Regions from separate parts of the Homo sapiens genome. Here all the other regions are linked to region 1. The links are contacts of gene promoters, found by promoter capture Hi-C in blood cells and fetal thymus (Javierre and others, 2016). All regions are on one chromosome and are shown on one strand. Each heading gives the region's core, a stretch centred on a gene start or on the middle of the fragment in contact. The rest is flanking DNA. Distances are from core to core; before and after follow the strand shown. Region 1 holds the start of PLSCR5 (phospholipid scramblase family member 5). Region 2 has its middle 29 kb from the start of PLSCR4. Region 3 has its middle 49 kb from the start of PLSCR4. Region 4 has its middle 77 kb from the start of PLSCR4.

What was found. Contacts are between HindIII fragments. The CHiCAGO score rates a contact against its expected background, and 5 or more counts as called.
Region 2: a fragment that was not itself captured here is called in contact with the fragment with the promoter of PLSCR5 in region 1 in 2 of 17 cell types (naive CD4 T cells and total B cells); the score reaches 6.1 in naive CD4 T cells.
Region 3: a fragment that was not itself captured here is called in contact with the fragment with the promoter of PLSCR5 in region 1 in 2 of 17 cell types (total CD4 T cells and monocytes); the score reaches 5.5 in total CD4 T cells.
Region 4: a contact is called between a fragment that was not itself captured here and the fragment with the promoter of PLSCR5 in region 1, in 1 of 17 cell types (monocytes). The highest score is 5.9, in monocytes.

What each region holds. Positions count from the first base shown.
Region 1 is chr3:146,601,481-146,608,613 of GRCh38, forward strand. It overlaps PLSCR5 (phospholipid scramblase family member 5), which reads right to left and starts at 3,866. Exons shown (of 8, transcript NM_001085420.2): 1 at 3,720-3,866. The coding sequence starts at 3,732. The HindIII fragment of the contact is 8,012 bases long and covers 1,896-7,133 here.
Region 2 is chr3:146,276,993-146,284,125 of GRCh38, forward strand. No RefSeq gene overlaps it. Among named protein-coding and RNA genes, the nearest start is that of PLSCR4, 29 kb to the left of the region's middle. The HindIII fragment of the contact is 4,771 bases long and covers 1,086-5,856 here.
Region 3 is chr3:146,296,849-146,303,981 of GRCh38, forward strand. No RefSeq gene overlaps it. Among named protein-coding and RNA genes, the nearest start is that of PLSCR4, 49 kb to the left of the region's middle. The HindIII fragment of the contact is 1,887 bases long and covers 3,391-5,277 here.
Region 4 is chr3:146,324,691-146,331,823 of GRCh38, forward strand. No RefSeq gene overlaps it. Among named protein-coding and RNA genes, the nearest start is that of PLSCR4, 77 kb to the left of the region's middle. The HindIII fragment of the contact is 1,801 bases long and covers 3,364-5,164 here.

The sequences.
Region 1 (7,133 bases), core at 2,616-5,115:
AGATGTGAAGCAAGGTTTGTGACAGGTATTTTCAAATATGAGAAGGGCCGTTATGAAGACAAGTAAATCAGATTGTCCTAAAGACATACAAAAGAGAGGGACAAGGAAATTGCTTCTGCATTGACAACAAGTAGGAAATTTATAACAGCTACACAAAGATTTGAATAAGTATTCTCATTACTCATATACCAAAATTGAAGCGGAATCCATATAATTAGCAGCAAATTACAATGTTCTCACTTCAGCAATGACTCTCAAATTCATGAATGTTTGTGTGTGGGGCAGGGGGGTGGTGAAGAAACATCTTTATCTTTTAAATCTGTGAAAAATAAATTCTAAAAATGAATTGGGTTTCCTTTGGTGATAGTAAATTTCTCATCATTAAGAAAACTCAAGCATATTCTGCATTCATTCATTCATTTATTTATTCATGAAGTAAATTCATTCATTTATTTATTTAACCTTAAGGTTGTACGAATAAACTGAGTTCATTATTATTAGTGTAGGGCCATTAAGTTTGTACTGGTCTGTGATATTTAGAATGTAGACATGCTTTATGGTTAGGACCAAATGGAATAACTTGTCAAATGGCCCTACTAAAATACAGCTTCCTACTGATAATACTATAGCAGTTTGGTTTCCGCAAGTACCCCCACCCTGAACTTCTCACACATCTGGGGCAGATACAAAGGATATAGGCTTTAGACCTTCCCCTGCTCTTGAGAATGGCTCCTCAATAGGATCCTAAGAAGTAAAGCCAGAGAAAGACTATGTAACACTATGTCAGATTTGGGAGAAGAGCTAATGGCCATTAATATAACAATAATGATGCAAAAATATTAAAAGGCAATAAACATTATTTCTTTAGCGTTAGTGCAAAATGTACCATTGTCACTTTCAGAAAAACATAGAAGCAAAATTATGATATAGGGAAAACTAGTTCACAATGATAAAATCCAGAATAGTGGTCCATCTTGGGAAAGGGAGGATGCATGGCTATTGGCTAGAAAGAGAACATTATAGAATCTAGAAATGTCTATATCTTGATCTTGGTGGTGGTCATGAATGGGTCCTTATTTTAAAAATCATGGAGCCTAGGTTTTGTGCTCTATGTACTTCACTGCACATATTATCTCTCAATTAAAAACCATGTGTAGGGATTAATTTCTAACAATAGCTAGTATAAGATTTTTAGATTCTCTCTCATTGTAAACTTAATTGTTAAAGGGATTCACAAATTACCCCAATTTTATCTTGTAAATTATGTTTGCTGTAACAAAATGCAGTAGGTTATGGAGGGTTTGGCAAGTAGCTGTACATTCCCGCCCAGTCCTGGAGGGCCTTAGACTTCACAGCAAGTCCAGAAGCATTAATGCACTTGGAGCTCAGAGGATATTGTGTCCAAAGTCTTTATTTAGGAGTAGAGTGTGAGTGAGTCTCTGCCTGAGACTGTTGAGAGACATCACTATTCTGAGATCACTAGCTGCTTCTTCTGGGATTTTAGTTCACATTGAAGCAACCTTTGGAGACAGCTCTTGCTCAGTTCAGATCACCGTGTTTGAGAGCAACTTGCTCTTAAATTGTGTTAATTTCTACTAAGCCAGGATGCTCCAGCTCACACAAATGTCTCTTCAGTTCTAATGGCACCTGGTATTTAGACTGTCTTTTGGTTTAGTAGTGCTGATTGATCTGCCTATGAAATATGTGAAATGTACAATTAGTCTGCATTCCCTGGGAAAATGCTAATTGCCAATATAGTTACTGGACAAGAAAACATGATGTTATAAATAATGTGTTTATATACAGCTGAAGAAAACTATCCACAAAAATGTTTTACTTAGATAATGGTGATAATTTGACTTGCCCTCTTAAACAAGATATCTAATTCACAAGAAAGCTTCATTATCACTTATATTCTCCTAGGTAGTATGAAGTCTCTAATAGGTGTTTTATCCTTCCATGCATTAAATATTTTGAGCCGGTTGCAGAAGGAGGGTCAGTTTTCCACCTGAAGTTTTGCTTCTAAGTTTAGACTTGGGTCTTTATCATTATGGAACATCACTGCTTCCTGTTAGATTAATCATATTTTGACATAATATTACTTTCCAGTCACAAGTTTCTTCAAAGACTCAGACAACCAGATGAAGAAGGAACTCCTTTGAATTTCGTACTGGCTTTGAATTTCTATCTACTCTTTTAAAAATGTATAACTAGCTTATAAATATTTTATACACTCTGCAACTTTTTACCTTACAGTCTACAGTATTGCTGTAACTCTTATTTTATAAAGTGATGAAGTATTTTGGACTAAATAGTAGTGTCAGTCTTAAATGAAAGGAAATATTTGTCAAGGTTTTTTGTTTATTTGTCTTCAGATAGAAAAAAATGACACATATGTTAAATTCATGATTTTGCTATTTCACATCTATGTTTTACAATTTGTGTGAGCTTTCTCAGTGATTCTGAGGGACTGAGGGACTGGTCTACATTAAAGATTGATAAAAAATGGAAAGATTATCTCATTTGTTTCATATTAAATAGTGACCAAAAGTGTGTTTTGATAAAGGAAGCAAGTAAGCATACACATTTGTTTGAATGGATCACTAATTTAGGATATTACAAATTGATGAGCCCTATTATCCTATTTGTAATTAATTTAAAAGGTTTTCACCAATTATACTAATTATAATTCTTCATGCTAAAACTTTTCATTATAGCCTAGGCTTTAGTGGTTCATTCTGACAATGAAATGAAAGCACATTATAATTTTATTTCTTACACAGTTTCACAAGTGTTTTTAGTGAGATTGCAACTTACTTTAAAAACAACTACATCTCTTGTCTTTTTAGACCTTCTTTAAAGTAAGATAACGTAATGATATTTTTGCAGTTTTAGGAATTTGAGAAAAAACTCATCAGTCCTACTCCCCAAAAGTCTGCTAAGTGATCTGTGCGCTTAAAGCAGATATTTTCTGTTTGTTTTCTATCTTTAATTTACCATAAGGAAATTTCAAGATATTTTTGCTTTATAATTCAGAAATACTTATTTCTAGCCCATCACATTTAAGAATCAATAATAACGCATGTCAGATTCTTTATAATAAATGGCTATATCACATAATTTGAATAACAAATGGGAAAATAAAACTTAGAGAGTGTAACTGGATTGTCTGTAACTCAAAGGCTGAATGCTTGATGGGATGGATATCCCATTCCCCTTTATGTCCTTAATTCACATTGCCTGCTTGTATGAAGACATCTCATGTATCCCATAAGTATATATACCTACTATGTACCCACATAAATTTTTAATATTTTAATTAAAAAAATTATTAAATTGCACTTTAACACTTTCTAACTTATGTGTGAAAAGTTTTCTTCAAATCCTTTTAAACTTAAAATATCACCCTGTCCTTGTGTTTAACATTGAAGATTCCCATTCTAAACTTTGCTATGCAGCTTTTCTTATTAATTCACTATGTTTGTATTCATGATAACTAAAACATCGTTTACATCTGAACTTTTACAGTCTGTCAGATAAAGTGTTTTTACATGTAACTCAACATGCTCCTGGGAGTTAAGATTTTAAAATCACAATGTTCAAAAGTGACAAATGACAGCTTTTAAAGTACCAATCTAACTGGTTGTAACACATCCACAATTGTATATTTTTAGTCTTAATATAAGAAAAAGTTATTAGTTGGTTATATTTACTCTTACCTTTAGAGGCCATGAAGATGTCTGAGTCACTTCTTCAAAGGTTGCCAGGTTGGAAAACAAAGGCTTTTCTTGTTGCAGCAAGGAGAGAAAACGCAGCATGCACAAAACTTCAGAACGTGTTTGTCTGCCTCTTGTCAGCTTACATATAACAGAGGAAGGGAGTCCCTTGCTGTTTCTAGACTTCTGGACTTTATCAGTTTGGACAACAGAGTGAGATGAAACTGTCACAAAAGTAAACGCTGTTCAGAAACCATCATATAACTTTGGTGGCTGAAGGAACAATTTAAAAATAATAAAAACCAGAAAGGAAAGCACACAGCACTCATTTTAAGTGTCTTTTTTTTTTTTACCAAGTTGTTTTTGTATTTCTTAGAATATACACATTTGCATTCAGTCTTATATCAGAAATATCCTGTATTTCTCAATTTCTAGAAGTCTCCTTTCCAGATTCTGTGATAAAACATCCTATTGTATAAATTTTTGATAGTTCTAAATACAATTCTTTACATGTTGAAAATGTTTGAACATTATTATTGTTATTTTTCTATTGGATTTATCTCCATCTCTTCAACTCAAAATAAATAAGAAGAGGATATATTCCCTACTATTATATAAATAAATCTTTATTTTCATTTTTAATTGAATTTGATTAATCAGAGGCATTGGAATATACAAACCTTCAATAGCCTTGCAAAGCTAATCAAAATTTACAGATGATATTTAACTGCATTGAATTCTAAGGAAAGAAAACAAGTGCTGTAACCTTGACTGGACAGCTCCTATTTCTAAATGCAGCTACCCAGGTGACCATGGAGATTTTGCTCACCAAGTCAATTGCCCTACATGGTATGATTCACAAAGGTTGAACATGCAGGATATATTGCATTATCAGCAACACTGTCTTTTTCTGAAAATAGTTAAGAGGCTTCAGGAGGTATACCTTGTGATGAAAAATTATAAAGTCAACCTCACAGTTTGCAGACTGCCAAAAGTTTGAGTTTTCCTTATTTGACAAAGAGGAGTGGTTTTGTTGTTGTAGTTTTCTTAGTGTTTGGAGTTGAAAAAAGCTACCATTATTTAAGTTGTCGTTTTGCAGAAAAGATGTGTGAATATGATTAATATTTTTAAATTAAACTGTATGTTTCCTAAGTTTTTTCTAATGTTTGTCGTGAGCATTTAGAAAAACTTTAATACAAAAAATTAAGTTATTAACACTATCAAAGAAGATTAAAAAAATTTTTTTTATTATACTCTAAGTTCTACGGTACATGTGCACAACGTGCAGGTTTGTTACATATGTATACATCTGCCATGTTGGTGTGCTGCACCCATTAACTCATCATTTACATTAGGTACATCTCCTAATGCTATCCCTCCCCTCTCCCCCCACCCCACAACAGGCCCCGGTGTGTGATGTTCCCCTTCCTGTGTCCATGTGTTCTCACTGTTCAATTCCCACCTGTGAGTGAGAACATGCGATGTTTGGTTTTCGGTCCTTGCGATAGTTTGCTGAGAATGATGGTTTCCAGCTTCATCCATATCCCTACAAAGGACATGTACTCATCATTTTTTATGGCTGCATAGTATTCCATGGTGCATATGTGCCACATTTTCTTAATCCAGTCTATCATTGTTGGACATTTGGGTTGGTTCCAAGTCTTTGTATTGTGAGTAGTGCGCAATAAACATACGTGTGCATGTGTCTTTGCTCAGCAAAAGGAACTACCATCAGAGTGAACAGGCAACCTACAGGATGGGAGAAAATTTTTGCAATCTACTCATCTGACAAAGGGCTAATGTCCAGAATCTACAAAGAACTCAAACAAATTTACAAGAAAAAAACAAGCAACCCCATCAAAAAGTGGGTGAAGGATATGAACAGACACTTCTCAAAAGAAGACATTTACGCAGCCAACAGACACATGAAAAAATGCTCATCATCACTGGTCATCAGAGAAATGCAAATTGAAACCACAATGAGATATCATCTCACACCAGTTAGAATGGTGATCATTAAAAAGTCAGGAAACAACAGGTGCTGGAGAGGATGTGGAGAAATAAGAACACTTTTACACTGTTGGTGGGACTGTAAACTAGTTCAACCATTGTGGAAGACAGTGTGGCAATTCCTCAGGGATCTAGAACTAGAAATACCATTTGACCCAGCCATCCCATTACTGGGTATATACCTAAAGGAATATAAATCATGCTGCTATCAAACAAGATGTTTTGAAATGTGGTCAGAATTCACCAGTTAATTTTGACTGCCCTACACAGCACAAATTTTGGAATAAAAATAAAAATCTTAGTGAATTAAACATATTTGTGAACTCTCCAAAGACAACCATATATGACTTGGGCATATGATGACATGGGCATATGACTGACTGATGGGATCTTTTAATATTTAATCTGCAGTGGAGGCTTTTCAGATCATCGAACCTGGTAATGCTACTGGTGAGGTATACTCAATGCATTTTTCTTCCCTTATGCACTCTCCCTGTCTTGCCAAAGACAATACCAATGTTTTTTTTCTTTTTAAAGGCTAAGTGTTTGCCAACCTGAGATCTCCCTTTTGTTCATTCCTTTCTTTTTCTCAGCTTTTCTCAAGGAGAGGCTCACAAAACTCTGTTTAATAGGACTCTCACATGTTTCAAGTGTCCTAACACTGTGTGTTCACGCAGCCAGGAGATGCTGCTCCACAAGCTGGCCTCTCTCCTGTTGCTATTGCTGCTGCCATTCAACTTCACCTTCATAGTACTCAGTGCTCTTCTCCTAACACCTGCTGCCTTCCTAGAAGAACGATGGTCATACCATCCTCTTGGCTCTGTGCCATGAAGCCCTTGACCTTTTCAAGAAGCATCAGTTTGACTTTGCCACCAGCCTGCAGTTTTTATGGCCCACTCACTTGATTCCAACCCAAGGTGGGCATGTCTAACACAGTACTGAAGACTTGAGATCACATCGAGGGCATTGCTGTAAGAAACAGGAAACTTGAACACGAATATCAGAAACCATAGGGTGAATGGGCTTTGCCTCTTCCCAGGAAACTCCCTATTGGTCATCGCTCTCTCCTGAGCCACTGGTTTGCTGCTCTGCTGCATGGGCTTGCTCATTTACTCAGGATGATCTGCCTTTCTGGTCCTGTACCTCCTGAAACAAGAGGAGCCTCATATATCCCCCCTTTTCTTCCATTCCAGCCAAAAGGAAATGGAAACAAATTGCACCATAATTGCTGCACAATTACCTTCTGCCCATAGACTATTTTCAGGACATATCACAGGTGTTTCTAAAGAGTTGTCCATTCAATATTACAGTGATGTTCATAACTTTACTCTTTATTTAGTGGCTAGTATTTGACTTACATTTTAATGTCTGAAAGACGCATCAAAATGCTTTCTCTCAGTACAAGGT
Region 2 (7,133 bases), core at 2,221-4,720, 320 kb before region 1:
TAAGTTAAATGTTATTACATCTACCCCTAAATTAGCCATGAGCCAGACATGGTCTAATAATATCCATTAGATGTTTATTTTACATTTTAATATTTATTTTGTTATGCTAGGTGTAAGCCAAGCCTTAAGTGATTAATTTAAATCTTTGGATAAATCAAGATGTGACTGAGCTTCATATTGGTAAAAGAAAATAAAGATGTATTGTCAACTACAATACATATACATATAAAAATAATTATAAAACAAGAATACTTTTCAATAAAGATTTAAAGAAAGGCCTGACATGGTGGCTCATGCCTATAATCTCAGCGCTTTGGGTGTTTCAGGCAGAAGTATCACCTGATGCCAAGAGTTTGAGACCAACCTAGGCAATGTAGGGAGACCCCTCTCTCTATATAAAAAAAAGTTAAAAATTAGCCAGGCAAGGTTTAGCATGTCTGTAGTCCCAGTTACTTGGGATGCTAAGAGAGGAGGATTGCTTTAGCCCAGGAGTTTGAGGTTTTAGTGAGCTATGATTGCTATGATTGCACCACTGTATTCTGGCTTGAGAGACAGACTGAGACCTTGTCTCTAAAAAAAAAAAAAAAAAAAAAAAAAAAAAAAAAAAAAAAGGTTTAAAGAAAATATTTTATATGAATCCTATTAATAAGTTCATAAGATATAATACTTTGGAAATGCCTTTTATATTCCTGGTAACTCCAAATACCTCAGAATAGAAAATAAGTTTACATTCACATACCAGAGGATACTGTTCAGATCAAGAAACTAATTTAATCCCTCTGTCACTTTCTCAAATCTATGATATCTTAATCTCACAACTTTTGACTGCTAATAGCCATGGCTGAGATTTGTATTTCAGCTTCTCTCAGTTCTATGTATCCACAAAGATTTTGAGTTTAAAGGTCTTGAGACTACTAGGTTCACAGATTACTGCCACATTCTGTCTTCTTGATTTATCATTTATCTCAACTAACCATATACTTGTAAAAAATAACAGCTTTATTGATACATAATTTATATAGTATAAAGTTCACCTTTTCACACTGTAAATACAGTGGTTTTTGTTATATTCACAGAATTGTGCAAGCTTTACCATTGAGTAATAGTAACTGGCCCAAGACACACAATAGTCTGGCTGTCATCCCAGACCATTCCAACTCTTATGTTCCTGGCCTGCTAATTCTTAAATTCCATTTCCATCTGTTTCCTGACTTTTGATCCTTTATTTTTCATTTAACACTTGCTTCTGCCCTGGAGACTTGGCATTTGTCTCTTGTCTCTAATTAATGACAGTCTTCTAAGGACTTTGACTTAGAATTGTTCACCAGAGCTTTCATTTTGGTCACCTCTGGAAGTTCTTCTGCCTTACTTGTTTTCTAAGAATCTACCCATGGATATTGCCACTCTAGTCAGATGATTGTTTTCCCATCAGGAAGTCATTCAAACATTTTGCTTCCAGTTTTTGTTTCTTTGGACTCAGTCTTGATGAAGCTATAGACACATGGATGAACTCAGACTCTCTCTTGAAGATGAAGGAAAAGTAGAGGTCTCGTTTGGGAGAAATTTAGGGCATGTCCTCAGGAATTGGGAATTACTGCAAAGCCAAGCAAATTAAGATACAAGATACATCGCAGTGAGGTACAGATAATTTGCCTGGGACTCCTGATTCTAGATCGCCCCTCAGGAGTTCACACGGTGATTCTCAGCATAGGACAAACCAAGTCATAGAATTCATATTGGACATGGCAGAATGTGTGCAAGGGAGCATTTGTAGGTGCCACTTTGATACAGACATTGTTAGCATTGAAAGGACAATGCACAGAGATATTAGGCCTCCTGCAATACATAGAGCAGTCCTGCACAAAAAGTGTGTTGGTGACTTTGATGATTTTGAATCCCTAATGGGTGACATGAAAAAATATGTCATAAACTGTCATCTGATGGATTTAAGATTATTGATTTATCCCATCATCTCCCTGCATTTCTGTTGCCTTTGGCCTACCCCACCAGTGACTTGGGTCACAACCTTGGCTCTGCTTACCTGCGGATGCCCTGCACAACAACCTGACTCCCAGTGGAGAGATTCTTCCCTTTCCCTGCCTCAGGGAAAGAACTGGTTATTTGACCCAGAATGGCTATGTTTGGACAGCATTCCTAGCAGTAGGAAAGGGTTCCTGAGCCAGTATGTGAGTTTCAATACAGCTAGAGGGTAAGAAAATGGACTCTGGCCCCAGGATATCTGGATTTGAACTTGAGCTTTACAACTCACTAAAGGGGAGATGACTTCCAGGAAGTTATCAAACTTCCTTTTGCCTCCGTTTCTTCCACAGTAAAAAAGGGGTAATATTAGTACCTGTCCTAGAGGTTTGTTATGGAATGAAATGTGTCAATACATAAAAAGTGCTTGTGAGAGGCTCTGTAAGTAATATGTTAGCTTCCCCTCCACCCTCAAGAAGCCTGCATCACTGATGATTTATCTTGGAATAGGAAAGTCAAATGACAATTAATGCTGATCACTAGATTTGTGACCTTGGTAATTTCACTTCACCCATCTTTATGTTTCTCTCTGGTAAATAAGGTTAAGAATTCCTGGGGACATTTTGCTAAGTGAAATAAGACAGCGACAGAAGATCAATGACCTGATTCCACTTATATGAGGTAACTAAAATAGTCAACTCATAGTAGCAGAGATTAGAATGGTTGCCAGGGGCTAGATGGAGGGGGAAATAGGGAGTTGCTATTCAATGGGCATAACGTTTCAATTTTGTAAGATGGATGTTAGATCTGCTGTATAAAATTGTGCTTAAAGTTTACAATACTGTATTAAAACTTACACATTTGTTTAGAAGGTAGATCTCATTAACTGTTCTTGCCACAGTTTTTTTGTAAAGCTACAATTTTGCCTCAGTTATTCCACAATGACTTACTAAGATTTCTCTTCCAAAGACCGGGAGCAGCACACAGCAGCAAGCATCACGTAATGTACGTAAGAACTCACAGGCAGAGGGTCAGCAGGAATGAGGGTCTCTTGTTTTTGTAATATGCTAGAGAGTTGTGATTGGACCATGGAGCTGGGTCCTGGCAGAGATATTCTGCCCCTCGCTGCTTTTTTTGTTTTTTTTTTTTAATGGAATAAGCATAACAATGATCTTGCTCAGGGTAATAGACACTTTCAGTTTTGGGGCCAGTTTCTTAATGATGTACTTTAAAAAGCCAGTTCTCTAGCACTGGAAGACAATGAAAAAAGTTGCCAGGCCACCCAGAGAGAGAGCTTCACAGTCCAAAATTAGCACTCCTGCTTTTCTGTATAAGACTGAAAGACAAAACATAAATAAATGAATCTTTAAAATTATTAAGCATGGTGTAATTTAAATGGATGTACCTATGAGTATCAAAAACTAATTTTGAATGATTATAATGAAGAATACAATATACAACATATATAATGCATTATATTATGTTCTTAATCCTAAATTTATAACTTTTACTTAAATATTAAAAACATCTAAAAGTATTTTTAATCATGAATCAAACTTTTGATTAGTAGCTCACAACTGAGAATGCGATAAAATTGATAGCCAAGGGGGCAAGAAAAAAAAACTCCAAAAGACTGTTTTAATTAGTATACAGTTGTTCCTTGGAATCCATGGGTGATTGGTTCCAGAATCCCTACCAAAATCTATGGATGCTCAAGCTCCTCATATAAAAAAGTTGTAGCACAATAAATTCTCATCATCATTGATAAGTTCTTGGAAACTGCAACTTTAAGTAAAACAATGTATAACAAAATCTATTTAATCATAGGCTAATTGACATAAATAAGAATTAAGTTCTTATGGCATATTTCTTGTCACAAAAACATCACCAAACTTCTAATTAAAGACCAAAACACTTCTGATATTCAACAGTGAAATAAATGTGAGCTATATATACCTTTAAGAAAGGCTCAAAAAAACAAATCAGATAAATGTTTATCCAACTACTCCAGTTCAGGATCCCGGGTAGCTGGAGCCTATCCCAGCAGCCCAGGGCCAAGGCTGACACCATTCCATTGCTGGGAGCAATTAGGCACACACACCCACACTCACTTAGAATGGGACCATTTTGACATGCCAGTTAAACTAACATGCACATCTTTGGAACGTGAGAGGAAATCAGAATGCCTGCAGAAAACCCACACAGACATGGAGAGAACGTGCAAACTCAACACAGACGTGGTCCAGGCCAAGAATTGATTTTTTTTCTCTTCAATGTTACAACAAAACAACATTCATGCTGTACTTGCATATAACCTATGCACATCCTCCCATGTACTTTAAATCATCTCTAGATTATTTATAATGCCTAATACAATTTAAATGCCATATAAATAGTTGTATTACTGCATTGATTAGGGAATCATGACAAAAAAATCTACATGTTCAGTACAAAGTCAATCATCCATTTTAATTTTTCTGATTATTTTCGATCCATGGTTGGTTGAATCCACAGATGAGGAACCCGTGGATATGAACAGCCATCTGTAATTAATACTCTAAAACAAATACCAAAATTTTAAAGCCACAAATTTTTATACATTCTTATTTTATAACACATAACATTATTTGTAAATTCATAAGAATAGAACTTACAAGTATAATTTATATGTGATGTTGGCATGTGAATGAAAGTTTAATTTGCATAACTATATTTCAGTAATGAAACTCAAAATAACTTGTCCCAAATCCAATAGTTGATATGTGATAGAGCTAGGATTCTGACCTGAACTTGCTATATTCTAATGCCTATGGTATCCAGTACTAGACAGAATAGGAGAGATTTAGCTGGCTTCAATATTTAAAGTGACATTACCTTCTGGACAGGGCTGGCTTTGTGGGCCTAGGAGTTGTGCAGTTGCATGTGGCTTAATGTGTTACATCTTCATCTTGAAGATATTAATATTTTTTTAAAAGGGGCTCAGCATTTTTAGTCTGCCCTGGGCTCACTGAATTATGTAGCCAGTCCTGTTTTTGGAAAAGATACAGACAACTCTTTAAATAGTCTCTGTGTTTGTAATCAGTGTGATAAAAATATAGAGTAAGCAACCAGCAAAGTTGTTCCTGGACAACCCTGGGATCAGCATGCTCACTTGCTGAAGTGCTCTCCATCCATGGTGATGTCTTCTGGAGTTCTCCAAAAGAAGATACCCCACTGGGTCTTTCTGTAGCTGTCTAGAATGCTCTTTGTTAGGCTTGAGCACACCTCCTAGCAAGCCACAGGACATGGAACAAATATGACTTCTAAAATCCTCAAAGGATACTTTGAACCTTCTCAGAATTTATCTTCAAAATGAGAGACAAGTGGGAATTGATAGAAGAAGGGAAGAAGAGAGAGAATGAAGAAGGCAGGGAGAAAAAGAGAGAGAGGGAGAGGGAGTGAGAATAACAATGTCTATAGACTTTGTTATAGAAAAAGAATGTATTTATATCCTACCTGTAAAGATTGTATTGCTCTCTCATTTCATTTCTATAATGGCGTATATGAAGTTCTTTAATTCCCCCATCACCTGGTAGAGGTTTATATGTATTGCTCCTCTACTAACTTCTTTAAGTAGTGGAATATTGCCTTGATCATCTTCTTGGGCCACCAAAATTTTGGAAAATTTTGATGAAGTGTTTGGTGAAGTTAAACAAAATGAAATGACAGAGCTCTGCCTGTATTCAATGACTTTGGCATTTATATATTTCCATTAAAATTATGTGCTTTTCAGGTGAGTTACGTGAAGTTTCCTAAAACTAAAACTAAATGAATCTCCAAAATAGATGCGTAAGTCCTTCATTACCTAAAAGCAATGTTTCCAATTAGTTTCTGCCTCTAAGCTTTATTTTCCCAATGCAATTTAGCTAATGCTTTAGCTAAAGAGAAAGTAAGCCACTGATTAAATTAATGTTTTAGTAGAAGATTAAGTGAACTACTATTAGCGTAAATCCTTCTTCAATAGCATTTGACAAAACTGCTGCTAATTATCTAGCCAACTACAAATGTTCTTGCCAGGTAGTAGAATCATGAGGTTCTTTTTGCCTTTTCATTTTCTTTTTCTTTTTTTTTTTTAGTTGGATTTTATTTTTTCTGGAATATGTCACATTTTAAATAAGAGTGTCTCTTGAAAGACAATGTGATTGGGGCCATACTCCTCACAGAAAAAGACGATTTTTTTTTTTTTTAGTTGAGGATATACGATTTTCAAGAGCAATAATAGCACCAGTGTTCAAATCCATCAATCAAAACCCTGTGAATGCTAAAGAAAATTTAAAGAGGAAACAGTAATACCAATCTTACACCAATACTTTCAAAGAAAAATCATGATTCCCAACCTGTTTTATGAGGTCAGAACAGGGGTGTGCTGTAGTCAGTTTGCACAGGCTAACAAAAGTCAATTACAAATATCTCTTCCCAACTCTGCATTTCACATGTAATAACCACCATTGTATAACAAACAGAACTAAGCAAATTATAATGCCAACAAATATAGTTATAGTTCAGTGAGACAATATTAAAAATTTGGGAAAAACTTTGAAAAAAAGAAAAAATTGGAAATCTCAAGAAAAATAAAATCTCCTGTGTTCTCTTTGATCAAATTTACTTTGAAGTCTGTGCTCAACTTGACTAATGAAATAAATGTGCAAATGATAACTAATGAGACCAATATACTGACTTTTCCCAAATACATGGAAAAGTTGAAATACATTATAGTTAACCTCCATGCACCTGTCACCTACAACAAAACATCAATAGTTTTTTAAGGGTCCCAATTGTTTTTTTTAAAGCTGGTCCAATGTGCAGCTAAGTTTGAGAATCACTGCGTTAAATTATAGTGTTTCTCACACTTCAGTGACAATTTAAATTACACAGATTGGTGTTGGTTATTCTTTAACTTATTGGAGAGCAGCTGTGGGGAGTGGGCTTAACTAGGAGCTGGTATGTCTGGCCACATTCCAATGCTTCAAAGGAGTATCTTTCTCCTTGAGCACAGTGTTTATAGATAAGAGCAGGTCACATTCTGATCATGGGAACATGATGGCAATAAGGAGGCTTTCCTACTCAGAGGCCTCCTGTGGCTTTCCACAACTTATTGTTCCATATTTTTATGGCCA
Region 3 (7,133 bases), core at 3,084-5,583, 300 kb before region 1:
TCAATTTGGGAAGAATTATTGTTATATTTCTATCTTCCTTCATTCCTTTATTCCTTCATTCCTTTAACCAGAATTTTATAATTTTCAGCGTACAGATTCTGTACATGTTTAAGTGAATGAGAGAAACAATTCTACCTAAAATTAAGACTTTTTAATGAATACCTAAGTATTTAATTTTCTTTGGAGTGATTATAAATGTTACGGCACTTTAAAATTTGTTTTCTACCTGCTCATTGTTAGTAGAAATGCTATTGATTTTCATGCCTTGATATGTGTCATGTGGCCTGGCTAACCTCATTTACTAGTTTTAGAAGTTTTGTTTATTTGGTTTGTAGATTTCTTGGGATTTTCCATGTAAACACATGTCAGTGTTTTGAATCTGTGGGCTTATATATTTTGCCAGATTTGGAAAGTTTTAAACATCATTATTTTTTAATGCTCTTTCAACCTACCTCTCTAATGTCATAAATGTTGGATGGTTTATTATTCTACAGGTCCTTGAGACTCTATTCATATGTTTTTTTCAGTCTATTTTCTCTCCGTTATTCAGATTGGAATAACTGCTTCCTATCTGTAAATCAGTATTCAGATTGGAACTTAACGATTCTATTCTCTGCCATCTCCATTCTACTACTGAGCCAATCTAGCAAGCTTTAAAAATTTATCTTACGTTATTTTTCAGATCTATCATTTCGATTTGTTTCCTTTAACTAAATTCTATTTCTGTTTTGCTATTTTTCATCTGTTTCAGGACAATTTGTAACTGCTTGTTGAATCATTTTTCTGTTGGTTGCTTTAAAATCACTTAACATGTAATTAAAAGTGTTACATGGATGTTAAACCTCCTGCATATTTGTATTTACATAATTTTTATTTATGTAAACGTAAATCTTACCTTTGTAATTACATAGCAAATTACATATTATTAATTTTACACATCTTTTAAATAATCACTTTATATATGGACATGCATACACAGAATAAATTTACTGTTTAAATTTCCAAAATTATTTCCCCAACAAACAGTAGATTTCATTTACTAAGACAATGGTTTTCAAGAGTGGTCCTCAGAGCAGCAGCATTAATATTATATTTGAAATACTTAGAAATACAATATTTTTGGCTCTACCCTAAGCATATTGCATGGGAAACTCTGAGGATGGGCCCAGCAATTTGTAGTTGAACAATGCTCCAGGTGATTCTGATGTACAATTAAGTTTGACAATCACTGCTGTGGGAGATCCTTAGCTTAAGGGTTAGCTGTAATGAATATGTTTCTTCTATTTCTGTTAATTCAAAATTGAAATAGAATTATGTTTTAAGTATTTTTTAAAAGGCAATGCAATTGAATAGCTTCTGAAAAATTGAATAATACAGGTCTGATATAAACCTGAAATATCAAGTTAACAATAGACTTTCATTTTAAAAAGAAAAAGTAATATAATAATAATACATTTGTAATGCTTGCTCTCTATATGCCAGGTGTAATTATAAGCACTTTACACATAATAAATATTTAATTCTCACAATTTATATAGGTAAGTAGTTTTTCCATTTTACAGATGGAAAAACTGGGTATAGGGAGGTTAAACAACTTGCCCAAAACATGGACCTGGTAAGAGAAAGGTGACGTACAGAGCTAATAATTGGCAGAGCTGGAATGTAACTCTAATTGAGTGTTTTCATATTCCCCACTTTGATCACGATGAAATACTTCTGCTTATAATAAATTGTTTTAAGTTCTTAATTTGTATTAATAAGATGTTTGCCTCTAAAAAGTAGTGCATAGGGAAGACAACACTATTTGTATATGGTTGCAAATGGAGACTTTTGTGTCTAATCACGCCAAACTACAATTTAGGATTTGGCCAGCAAAGTAGTTTGTTTGTCTGATTGTTTTTGAGAGACATTAGACTGGGCATCACTGTCAGTTCCTCTGCCTTCCCCCGTCACTTCCTGATATCTTACACTGCCCTGTGCATTTTTCTTACTTTCAAAGTCTCAGGTGGCAGATAAGTCATGAGCCTGAGTTAACTGGTTCAGTTCACTAATTAATATGAGTCCTAAAACAAAGCTCTCAAAGATATACAAGCACACAGATGGGAGATTTAGCATGGGGGTTACTTTATTCCAATTTGGCTCCTACCCACATGAGGAGTTTCTCTGTGGGAGCTTGACATTATTTTCTCAAGAAAGCAGAGGGTGATATTGTATACATAATAGTGAATTAAAAAACAAGCAGGAAATCAGCCAGAGCTGCTTGAGACATGAGATCTTCGGGGTATATACTTACTATTGAGCCTCAAATTGGAAATTGACCCAATGAACACAATTTATCCAAATCAGAATCAAGTTATTTTTTTCTCTTTAATGATCTGCATTAACTAAGACCTTCTGTTCCCCTTCCACCTAACCTATAGGTGACTGAAACTCCTGGTAAACAGAAAGGACAAGGAAAGCAATCTAATTAAAGGCTGCTATGGCTGCTCTAATCACAGTTACCAGGAAATAAACTTCCATCTTTTCCCAGGTCTCCTTTTTCCCACTTGGTGGAAAATGAACAGGCTAGAATGAACATGCATGACATGATTTATTAACTACACTGGTTCCGACTTGAGTCAGCAGCAGGAGAAACAAGAAGTTTACAAACTCTTTTGAGTATGCAGGTCAAAAAACTTTACGTATCGCAAATTCCTTCTTTGCTCTTTCTCCCTTAATCCATGGAACAAACTCCTCCCAAGGAGAAACAATTAGTTCATATTTGGCTACACTTCTAAATACTCTTGGCCTCAGTTCTCAAAGATTTTCCATAATAACACCAGCAGGGTGTGGTTGATGCCTCAATTGCAGGGTCTGTAGGAGCAGGGCTTGCATAGATTTAGCTGTAACTGAGACCTTACTCCAGATTGGCCATACTCTCACTACATTATTAACCTTGAACTGATATGAAATCTAGGACACACACTTCTTGGATTCTGCCCCTGCCTCAGGCCATTTGTACTGCTATAATAAAATACCTGAGACAAGGTAATTTATAATAATCAGAAATTTGTTTCTTCCATTTCTAAAGGCTGGGAGAATCAAGTCCTTTCAGAATGGCATTAATCCATTCATAAGGGTGGAGCCTTCATTACCTAAACACATTCTATATTCTTGTGAATAATTCATTTAATATTTTTTACTCCTGAGGAAAATGAATAACTCTTATACAATAGAGATCTCACCCGCATACCAATACTGTTTGTAAAATATTAATGTTTTAGACTCCGTTTATATGGGACATAACTTTAAAACAAAACATGTTCCATGAATCAGACATTTGTTAGACCTACTTAAATTAAAGATACTTCATCAATTCCTCCAATTTTTTCCCAACCTTTTTCTACTAAAAGCTTGAATATTCAATGATATAGAAATATGCCCCAGGAGAGGCAGAACAACATGGCAAAATAGAAAACTCCACAGATCATCCATGGCTGCAAGGACACCAAGTTAACAACATCTTCATAAGAACCAAAAGTCAGGTGAGCATTCACAGTATCTGGTTTTAACTTCATATAGCTGAAAGAGGCACTGAAGAGATAGGAAAAAAGCCCCAAATCTCCAGTGCTACCCTCTTCCCCTACCCATGGCAGCAGTGGTGTGGTGCAGAGAGCATCTCTGTGCTCCAGGTGAGGGAGAACATGGCAATGTGAGGCATTGAACTCAGTGTTGTCTTGTTAGAGCAGAAAGGAAAACCAGACTAAACTCAGCTGATGCTGGCCCATGGAGGGAGCATTTAAACCAGCCCTAGTCAGATGGGAATTACCAGTCACAATGGTCTGAACTTGAGTGCTCACAGACCTCACCACCAAGGACTATAGCACTCTGTGCCTCCAAGTAAACTTGAAAGGTAGTCTAGGCCATAAGGACTGCAACTCTTAGGTGAGTCCCAGTGCTGAACTAGGCCCAGAGAGACTGCACTGAGGGGACATGTGACTAACCAGCTTGGGCAGCCAAGGGAGTGCTGGCATCACCCCTCCCCTAACCCCAGGCTGCACAGCTCATGGCTCCAAAACAGACCCCTTCCTTCTGCTTGAGGAGAACAGAGGAGAGAGTGGGGAGGGCTTTGTCTTGCATCTAGGATACCAGCCCAGCCACAGCAGGATAGGGTACCAGTCAGAGTCATGAGCCCGGATTCCAGGCCCTAGCTCCTAGACAACATTTGTAGACACACTCTGGCCAGAAGGGAACCCACTGCAATGAAGGAAAGGACCCAGTCCTGGCAGCATTAATCACCTACTAACTGAAGGGTCCTTGGATGCTGAATAACCTGTAGCTATGCCCAGGTATTACATCGAGGGCCTTGGGTGAGCCTCTGAGACTTGCTGGCTTCAGGTGAGACTCACACATTACTAGCTGTGGTGGCTATGAGGAAAAACTCCTTCTGCTTGAGAAAAGCAGAAAAAAAAAGTAAAGGTTTTTTGGGTTTTTTTTTCCACCTTAGGTGCCAGCACAGCCACAGAGGGGTAGAGTGCCAAGTGGGCACTTGGGGTCCCCAATTCCAGGACTTGACCCTTGGATGGCATTTCTGGCCAGCCATGGGCCAGAGAGGAGTCCACTGTCCTGAAGGGTGAGTCCCAGGCCAGGCAGCATTTAAGACAAGCTGACTTAAGAGTCTTTGGGGCTTAAAAGAACATTAGTGGTAGGCTGGCAGTAGTCCTGGGCCTGGGGTAGCACAGTGGCTATGGGGTAAGTCTCCTCTGCCTTTGGAAAAGGAAGGGAAGTGTGTGAAGGACTGCGTCTTGTGGTTTGAGTGCCAGCTTGGCTGCAATACAATAGAACACCAGGTAGACTTACATATATGGATTTTGACTATAGTCCCTGACTCCTGGCCAGCACTTCTGAATCTAACCAGAGCCTGGGGGACCTCACAGCCCTGAAGGGAAGAACACAGGCCTGACTGACATTCCCACCTGTGGATTGTGGAGCCCTAGTCAGAGAGTAGTTTAGCAGACCTTGGGTGAGGCCCAGCACTGTGCTGGCATCAAGTCTGACCCAGCACAGTCATAGTAGTGGTGGTCACAGGGGTGCTTGTGTCACTCCATCCCCAGCCTTAGGTGGCTCAGAACAGAGGTAGAGACTCTATATGTTTGGGAGAAAGTAATAGAAGAGAACAAGAGTCTCTACCTGATTTTCCAGGGAATTCTTCTGGATCTCTTAGACCATCAGGGTGGTACTTCCACAAGTCAGCAAGAACCACAAATTTACTGGGCTTGTGGTGCTCCCTAAAGATAAAGCTTACATCATAACACCCAAGTTCTTTTAAATATCTGGAAAGCCTTCCCAAGAAAGATGGCTACAAATAAGCCCATATAGAGCAGGCTACAGTAAATACCTAACATCAATGCTCAGACACCGAAGAACATCTACTAGCATCAGCATCACCCAGGAAAGCATTGACCTCACCAAATGAACTCAATAAGCTGCCAGGGACCAATTTTGGACGAACAGAGATATGACACCTTTTAGACAGAGATTTCAAAATAGCTGTGTTGAGGAAACTCAAAGAAATTCAATATTACATAGAGAAGGAATTCAGAATTCCATCACATAAATTTAACAAAGAGATTGAAACAATGAAATAGAATCAATCATAAATTCTAGATCTGAAAAATACAACTGGCATACTGAAAAATGCTTCAGATTCCTTTATTAGCAGAATGGATCAAGCAGAAAAAATAGTGAGCTTGAAGACAGGCTATCTGAAAACACACAGTCAGAGACAAAAGAAAAAATAATGAAAACCAATGAAGTTTGCCTGCAGCTTCTAAAAAATAGCTTCAAAAGGGCAAATCTAAGAGTTATTGGACTAAAAGAGGAAGTAGAGAAAGAGACAGGGGTGGAAAGTTTCTTTAAAGTGATAATAACAGAGAGCTTCCCAAACATGGAGAAAGATATCAATATCCAAGTACAAGGTTATAGAACACCGAGCAGAATAAACTCGAAGAAGACTACCTCAAGGCATTTAATAATCAAACTCCCAAAGGTAAAGGATAAAGAAAGGGTTCTAAAAACAGCAAGAGTGAAGAAAAAAATAACAAATGATGGTGCTCCAATATGTCTGACAACAGACTTTTCAGTGGGAACCTTACAGGCCAGGAGAGAGTGGCATGACATATTTAAAGTACTAAAATAAAATAACTTTTAACCCAGAATAGTTTATCCAGTGAAAACATCCTTCAAACATGAAGGAGAAATAAAAACTTTCCCAGACAAAAAGCTGAGGGATTTCATCAATGCCAGACCTGTCCTACAAGAAATGCTAAAGGGAATATTTCAAACAGAAAGAAAAGAATATTAATGAGCAATAAATAATCACCTGAAGTTACAAAACTCATTAGTAATAGTAAGTAAACAGAAAAATACAGCATATTATAACACTGTAACTGTGGTATATAAACTACTTTTATCCTAAGTAGAAGGACTAAACCATGAACCAATAGTAATAAAGAGCTACAACCATTTTTCAAGACATAGTCAGTACAGTAAGATATGAATATAAATAATGAAAAGTTAAAAAGTTGGGGGATAAAGTTAAGGCATAGAGTTTTTATTAGTTTTGTTTTTACTTGTTTGTTTATGCAAATAATATTAAGTTGTTATCAGATTAAAATAATGGGTTATAAGATAGTATTTGCAAGTCTCATGGTAACCTAAAGCCAAAAAACATACAATGGATACAGGAAAAAGAAAGAGGAAGAAACTAAATCATGTTACCAGAGAAAATTACCTTCACTAAACGAAGACACGAAGGAAAGACAGAAGGAAGAGAAGACCACACAACAACCAGAAAACAAATAACAAAATGGCAGGAGTACTTCTTATCAATAATAACTGCAATGTAAATGGACTAAACTCTTTAAACAAAAGATACAGACTGGCTAAATGCATGGAAAAAACAAGACCTATTTATCTGTTGCCTACAGGAAAAGCACTTCACCTATAAAGACACACATAGACTGAAAATAAAGGGATGGAAAAAGATATTCCATGTCAATGGAAACCAAAAGAGAGCAGGAGTCACTATACATATATCAGACAAAATAGATTTCAAGACAAAAAATTTAAGAAGATACAAAGAACATCACTAT
Region 4 (7,133 bases), core at 3,014-5,513, 280 kb before region 1:
GAGGGGAACATCACACACTGAGGCCTGTCAGCGGGTGGGGGCTAGGGGAGGGATAGCATTAGGAGAAATACCTCATGTAGGTGATGGGTTGATGGGTGCAGAAAACCACCAGGGCACATGTATACCTACGTAACAAAACTGCACGTTCTGCACATGTAACCCAGAACGTAAAGTATAATAATAATAAAAAAAACTTCTTGTCTTTATAAGTTACCCAGTCTCAGGTATGTCTTTATTAGCAGTGTTAGAACAGACTAATATAGGAATAAATTACTAAATTTTTGTGGTTATATTTTTAATATTTTGTTCTTTAAAGTTCATATTAAGGTTATAGAAAATTGGCTCACCAGCAATAGTTTTATATTATCCTGTATTTGATTATGTATTTACCTTTACTGGTGTGATTTATATTTTCATGTGCTTTTATATTAATGTTTAGTGTGTCTTCAATTCCACTTGAAAAACTCCCTTATGTATTTCTCACAAAGCAGATCTAGTAGTGAAAATTTATATTCAGTGTATGTTTTTCTGGGGAAGACTATCTTCCCTTCATTCTTGAAGGATACCTCTTTAGGGTTTAGTTATTTTGGGTAGGCAATTTTTTTTTTTTTTTTTAGTATTTTAAATAAGTCCTTCTACTCTTTCCTGGCCTTCAAAATTTCTATTGAGCAATACTTCATATTCTCATAGGATTTCCCTGGTGTATGATGAGTTGTTTTACTCTAGCTGCTTTCAAAATTTTCTGTTTTTTAATTTCTCAGTTCAATTTTGTTATGTCTGAATGTAGACCTCTCTCTTTTCAATCTATTTAGGGTCCCATGAGCTTCTTCAGTCTGGATGTCTATTTCCCTCTCCAGATCTGGGATGCTTTCTGTTATTATATCTTTAAATGAGAGTTATACTTTTTTCCTTTTCTCTTCTCCTTGAATTCGCATTATAAATGTGTTTTTTCACTTCAGTGTGCTTCATAAGTCACTTAGGTTTTCTTTACTGTTTTTCCTTTTTCTCTTCCTACTGGATAATTTCAAGTGGTCAACCTTCACATTTGCTGATTCGTTCTTCTGCATGATCAAGCCTGCTGTTGGAGCACTCTTTTTTTTTTTTTTTTTTTTTTGAGACAGAGTCTCACTCTGTTGCCCAGGCTGGAGTGCAGTGGTGCAATCTTGGCTGACTGCAAACTCTGCCTCCCGGGTTCACACCATTCAGCCTCAGCCTCCCAAGTAGCTGGAACTACGGGCGCTCGCCAACACGCCCGGCTAATTTTTTTGTATTTTTAGTAGAGATGGGGTTTCACCGTGTTAGCCAGGATGGTCTCGATCTCCTGACCTCTTGATCCGCCCGCCTCGGCCTCCCAAAGTGCTGGGATTACAGGCGTGAACCACAGCGCCCAACCAAAGCACTCTATTTTTTTAAGCATAGCCATTGTGTTCTTAAGTTCCAGAATCTGTTTGGTTCTTTTTTCTATTTTCTTTATATTGTCCTACTCACTTTGTCCTTGTGCTGTTTACTGATTAAAAAAAAATGTTTAATCTATGTTCTCTCTTACCTTACTATGCTTCTTTAGAATAACTGTCAATTACTGGACAGTTATTACATTCCTTTGATGATTTCATGTTTCCCTCCTTTTTTGTGTGTTCTTTGTTTCTTTGTGTTGGTGTCTGCACATTTGAGAAGCAGTTACCTATCACAGACTTTATGGACTGGCTTTGGTAAGGAAAAACCTTCACCTGCAGAGGAGGAATGAGGATGAAGGGATGCCAAAAGTAGGGTTGTTTGTGGGTGTACTCTGGGCCCTGGGTCTAGTGGTGTTCAAGACAAAAACTGTGGGAGTGTGCTTCAACTCTGGGTTTGGGGCAAGTGGTGGTGGATCAGTGATCAGGGAGCTGGAATATGCAATGTTGACAAATGTGTGGTCTTGGAATTGATGTTTACATAGGGCCCACGATGGCCACTAGGGTTGCTGGGAATCACACTGGCATCTCTTGGTCAAGTGGTGAGCATGACTGGGTAGGTGGATGTTGAAGTGGGCAACATGCTTGTAGTTAGCTACAGGGGCCAACTGCAGGTGTGCCCACTACAATGGGAGCTGAGGTTGGTGATGGGAGCAGAGCCTAGTTGTATACATTTATACAAAGTGGCCATACTGGGTCCGGAGTCTCCATGGCATCACTGGCTAGGGTGCCTTCAGTGGTTGCAGCAGATGCTGCAGCTTAGGCAACTGAGGTCAGAAAAGGGAAAATATGGACCCCTTTGTGGTGAAGGTTTCAAGAGTCTGCAGTGGCCATAAAGGTTGTTGAGGTCCTTAATGGTGACATTATTGGAGTCCTCTGCAAGGCGGGCCACTGAGAACTGAGGTAGCACCTGCTGCCATGTACTTGATACTAATGGCTCCTACCCCCTTGTTCCTAGCCATCTCCAAATATATCAGCTATGCTGATTTCCCTAGCAATCTGGCTGGGTTAAAACCAAAGTAATTCCTTCAGCCTAAAAGCTGGGGAAACTGGTTGTTCATCTTGATCCTCTTTTCCTTCATAAGGAGAACTCATGGGCCAAGATGACCTCTCACGGTGAGCAGCTGTGCTGGCCTGAGGAATTAAACAAAAGTAGCTAAATGAAACCGTTCTTCCCAGTCTATCTGTGAAGTTATTTTTGGTTCTATTGCGCCACTGTGTGGCTGCAACTTCTTCAATAGAATCTTGAACTCTCCCAGAGCTATTTTCATTTATGCATAGCTGAATAATTATTGTTTTTGTGAAAGGACAAATATATCATTTTTAAACTGAGGTATAACATATAATTTGTAATGTGTGCAAATTTAAATAAGCAAGTTAAATATTTTTTCAGTGTTATACATACATCCATGTATCAACTAGGTGGATATGGAACATTTGAAGTACTCCAAAATGTTTTCTTCTGTGCTATACCATTCAGCACACTCTAAAGAGGTGGCCACAATGCTTGCTTCTATCTTCAAGTCATTATTTTGACCTATATTGAACTCATCAAATGAAATCATCCAGGGTATATTCTTTTGACTCTTGCTTCTTTCATTTAATAAAGCGTAATAGTGAATTTTATGTGTCAACTTGACTGGACCATAGGGTAGTGAGATATTTAGTTAAACATACTGGGTGTGAAGGTGTTTATGGATAAGATTAACATTTTAACTGTTAGACTGAATAAAGCATATTGTCTACCTAAATGTAGGTGCACCTCATCCAATCTGTTGGAGGCCTAAACAGAACAAAAAGGTAGGCTTGGAGAGTATTCACTCTCTCTCTACCTGTCCTCTATGTGAGACATGGTCTTCTTTTGCCTTCAGACTTGGGCTTGGACTGAAGCCTGCACCATCAGCTCACCTGAAGCTTTCAGGCTGAGATTGGAACTATAGCATTGGCTCTCCTGTGTCTCCAGTTTTCTATCTGAAGATCATGGAACTTCTCAGCCTTCATAACCACATGAGCCAGTTTCTTATGATAAGCCTACATGTACATCTTTGTCTAAAGCTATCCTATTTATTCTATTTTTCTGGAGAGATCATACTAATAGAGATAACTTCTGAGGGTTATCCATGTTATATTGCACATCAGTAGTTTCTCATTTTCATTCCTTTGCAGTATTCCATTGTGTGAGTATAATACATATTAATTGTCCATTTTTCTATTGATGGCATTTAGGATGTTTGCATTTGGTGTTATGAATATAACTACTACAAATATTGTGCACAAAATCTGGTAAACATTTGCACTTCGAGTATTCATCTAAGAGTAAACTGGCTGAATTTTAGAGTAAGTTTGTGTCTTATGTACAGTAAGTGTAAGTCAAGTTACTCTATACTCTTACCAACACTTGGTTTTTAACAGTTTTCTAAACTTTAACCATTTAAGGCAGACGACATTTTGAAGTGAGTAGAGGTTTATCTATGACACCTGTGCTAGTGTGCAATCAAGCAACTTCTCTATATGTCTTTCATCTCCCTTACTGACATCAATGCTCAGGGCCTTTTACTACCATTACTCAGTTGCTAAATAAACCTTAATAAACTACGATGTTAGTTGATAAAAATTAAATGATAAATTCAAAGCCAACAGTGAAGCAGAATTCGTGAAAACAAACCAAACAAACATAAGAAACAGAACATATATGAGATAGTCATTAGTCCTATTTACAAGCTATTTTCTCTCCTTCCAGGAAGATGGTAAGATTGCATTTTTTTGGTCATTTGAAGTTGATTGTATTCATATGACTTGCTTTGGCCAGTGAATTGTAACTGTAAGTAATGTGTGTCACTTTGGGGGAGAAATATTAAGAACTAGTGCCTGTGTTGTCATATTTACTTTCCCATGCCTGTGTCCATTTCCCCCTGCCTTAGTACTTAGGAAAGACTGGGTCAAGATTAAGTCTTTTCTGCAGCAGGTCCTTGAGTGACTGTGATGAACAAAAGTATCTTGATGACCTACAAAGGACATGTAAGTAAATAATAAACCTTTATTTTTATAAGCCACTAAAACTTTGAGATTGTCACCGTAGCTTAACCTAGCCTACACTGCCTGGCAATCTGTTCACATGCTCTAATGCGACAATCTGCCTGTGCGAAATATTAGTTTCTCCCTTTACATGCCATTTGTGGTCTTCAGTTTGAGGGAGCCCCTGGTAGTACTAACTCACTCCACTAGTCCTCCATAGAAATTTGAGTTTGTTTGGTGACAACGTTTTCTATACTAGGGATGATTATGTTTTATTGGGAATGTATGGCAAACTGAAAATACTATTGGATTCAGATAAATGAATTTTACATAGTGGTGTCTCTTCATTGATGACTTGTAAACCAGTTAAAGAGAAAATAACTCTACATTTATTACTTTACGGGTGCTTGGGAGGTTTTCTCACATTTTAGGAAGATGCTGAAAGACTTGTTTCATCTGAAAATCAAGGGAGAGGAAATTAAAAAGGAGAAGCAATAGTATGAAGGCAATTCTTCCTGTTTATATTCAAGTATAACAACATGCCAAATTATAGGAAACCATTTGCAAATAATTGATTCCATTTATGCTAATATAAACAGTGTTATATAAACTATATAAATATAAACTATATAAAAGTAACCAGAAAAAAACTTTAAAACTCTATTAGGTTATTCAACTTTAAATAAATTGCTCAGTTAAGCTTATCAACTCCTGGACATATTTTTTAAAACAATGGTTTTCTCGTGTATCCAGCGGGAATAAGGAAAGAATCAAGGAAAGGTATGTGCCAATTATCTGTTAAAGTACCCACTAGACAATTAACATCTAATGGGACAGAACTTTACCATATCTCCAAACCTAGTTACATAGAAGGGTCAGAAATATTCTGTGTATTCCAGGTTTCATGTGGAATCAGTGAAATTAGAGATATTATGGGAGAAGAAGAGACTTAAGGGAACAAGCAATACCTCTACCAAAATTACTCTCCATTGCTGATATTTCCATGTAGAGATACTGGCATTAGAGAAGACTTCTGATCTTTATCTGTTCCCTCATTTACTTGCCTCAGGGATCAGGGATAAATGATTGTTCTTGGGGAGTTTGAGCAAAGCAACTGGGTATGAGAAGTTCAGCTGTGTTTCTCTTTGGAGAGACAGCCTGTTAACAGACAGCGCGAATTCCTAGGTTTTTCAGGGAGTGAGGTTTATGGTGGTAGGACTCTAGAATAAAGGGCTGTGTTTTTTTCCAGCTCTGCCTGAGACAGTGAGAGTAATTCTGATTCAGCACCCTTTTGCAAATTTATTATTGCTAGAGAATGAAGCCTTGTCCTCTAAACAGCTTTATCAGGTTAATGATGAAGTCAGTTTTACTCCTTTGCCTATCTCTCAAGTGATTTCATTCACAGGCAAAGAACAGTGATAGTATACAATGATCTCTCAAAAGGCCAACAATATTAGCTTGCTGTCAGTTAAGAAAACAGCACCACATTTCTCTGATTTCCATATCTAGGAAGGTCCTATGGCCATATCTCAAACAAGTGGCAAAAATTACAGGTAGACAGGAATACACAAAACCGGACAGAACAGAGAGAGCTATACAGACACAGAAAACAAACAGAAATATTGAAATGTTATAATATATAGGAAACTAAGAATAAACAATTCAAGGATATAGGAAATATAGTAGTAGTCCCCAGAATAATTTTTATAACTGACTGTGAATCTGCCAGAACTATGAATAAAGTATTCCCACATCTCCAGACATATTGTCTATTCCATGTTATCTGTCAGACTAACAGGCAGGCTAGGTCACATCTGGACAAAGTAGTATTTGGCTGCCCATTAGCTATAGTTCTTTCCCTTCATCAAGGTAATTGTTTGAGTCTGTCTATGATCATCTGATATTCTTTGTATGACCAACAATTAAATTTTTCAATGCAAGTGAATCTGTCAAACAACAAGTATCTTTCACAAAAGAATCTAAAAATATATCTTAATAAATGAAATTAAACTCAGATGTGAATGGTGGCTGTGAAAAATATGACTGTATCAATAAATGAATGGATGAGTAAATTGAAATACCTCATAGATGACAGGTATTTTAAATGCTTTTGTTTTTGTAACATAGTAATTTAGTTTTTCCTTCATAGGTAGAAGATTGCCGTGAGATCAGTCGGTATTGTTGAGATGTGCTATGTTAGCATTTGCTTACGATTAATTTACAACAGTAGATAAATTTGAAACAAATATCTAAAAATTTTCTATTAACCATTGTTATAAAAGATTGCACATTAAGGCTGGGCTCAGTGGCTCACGCCTGTAATACTAACAATTTGGGACGCCAAGGCAGGCGGATTGCCTGAGCTCAGGAGTTTGAAACCAGCCTTGGCAACAAGGTGAAATCCCGTCTCTACTAAAGTACAAAAAATTAGCTGGCTGTGGCAGCATGCACCTGTAGTCCCAGCTACTCGGGAGGCTGAGGCAGGAGAATTGCTTGAACCTGGGAGGCGGAAGTTGCAGTGAGCCAAGATCGTGCCCCCGCACACAAGCCTGGGCAACAGAGCGAGATCCATCTCAAAAAAAAAAAAAAAAAAAAAGTCTGTTAAATTTTTTGTGTGATTGCAAGAATACTGGGGGATAAAAGGAATCTGTAATTTGCAGTCCTGTT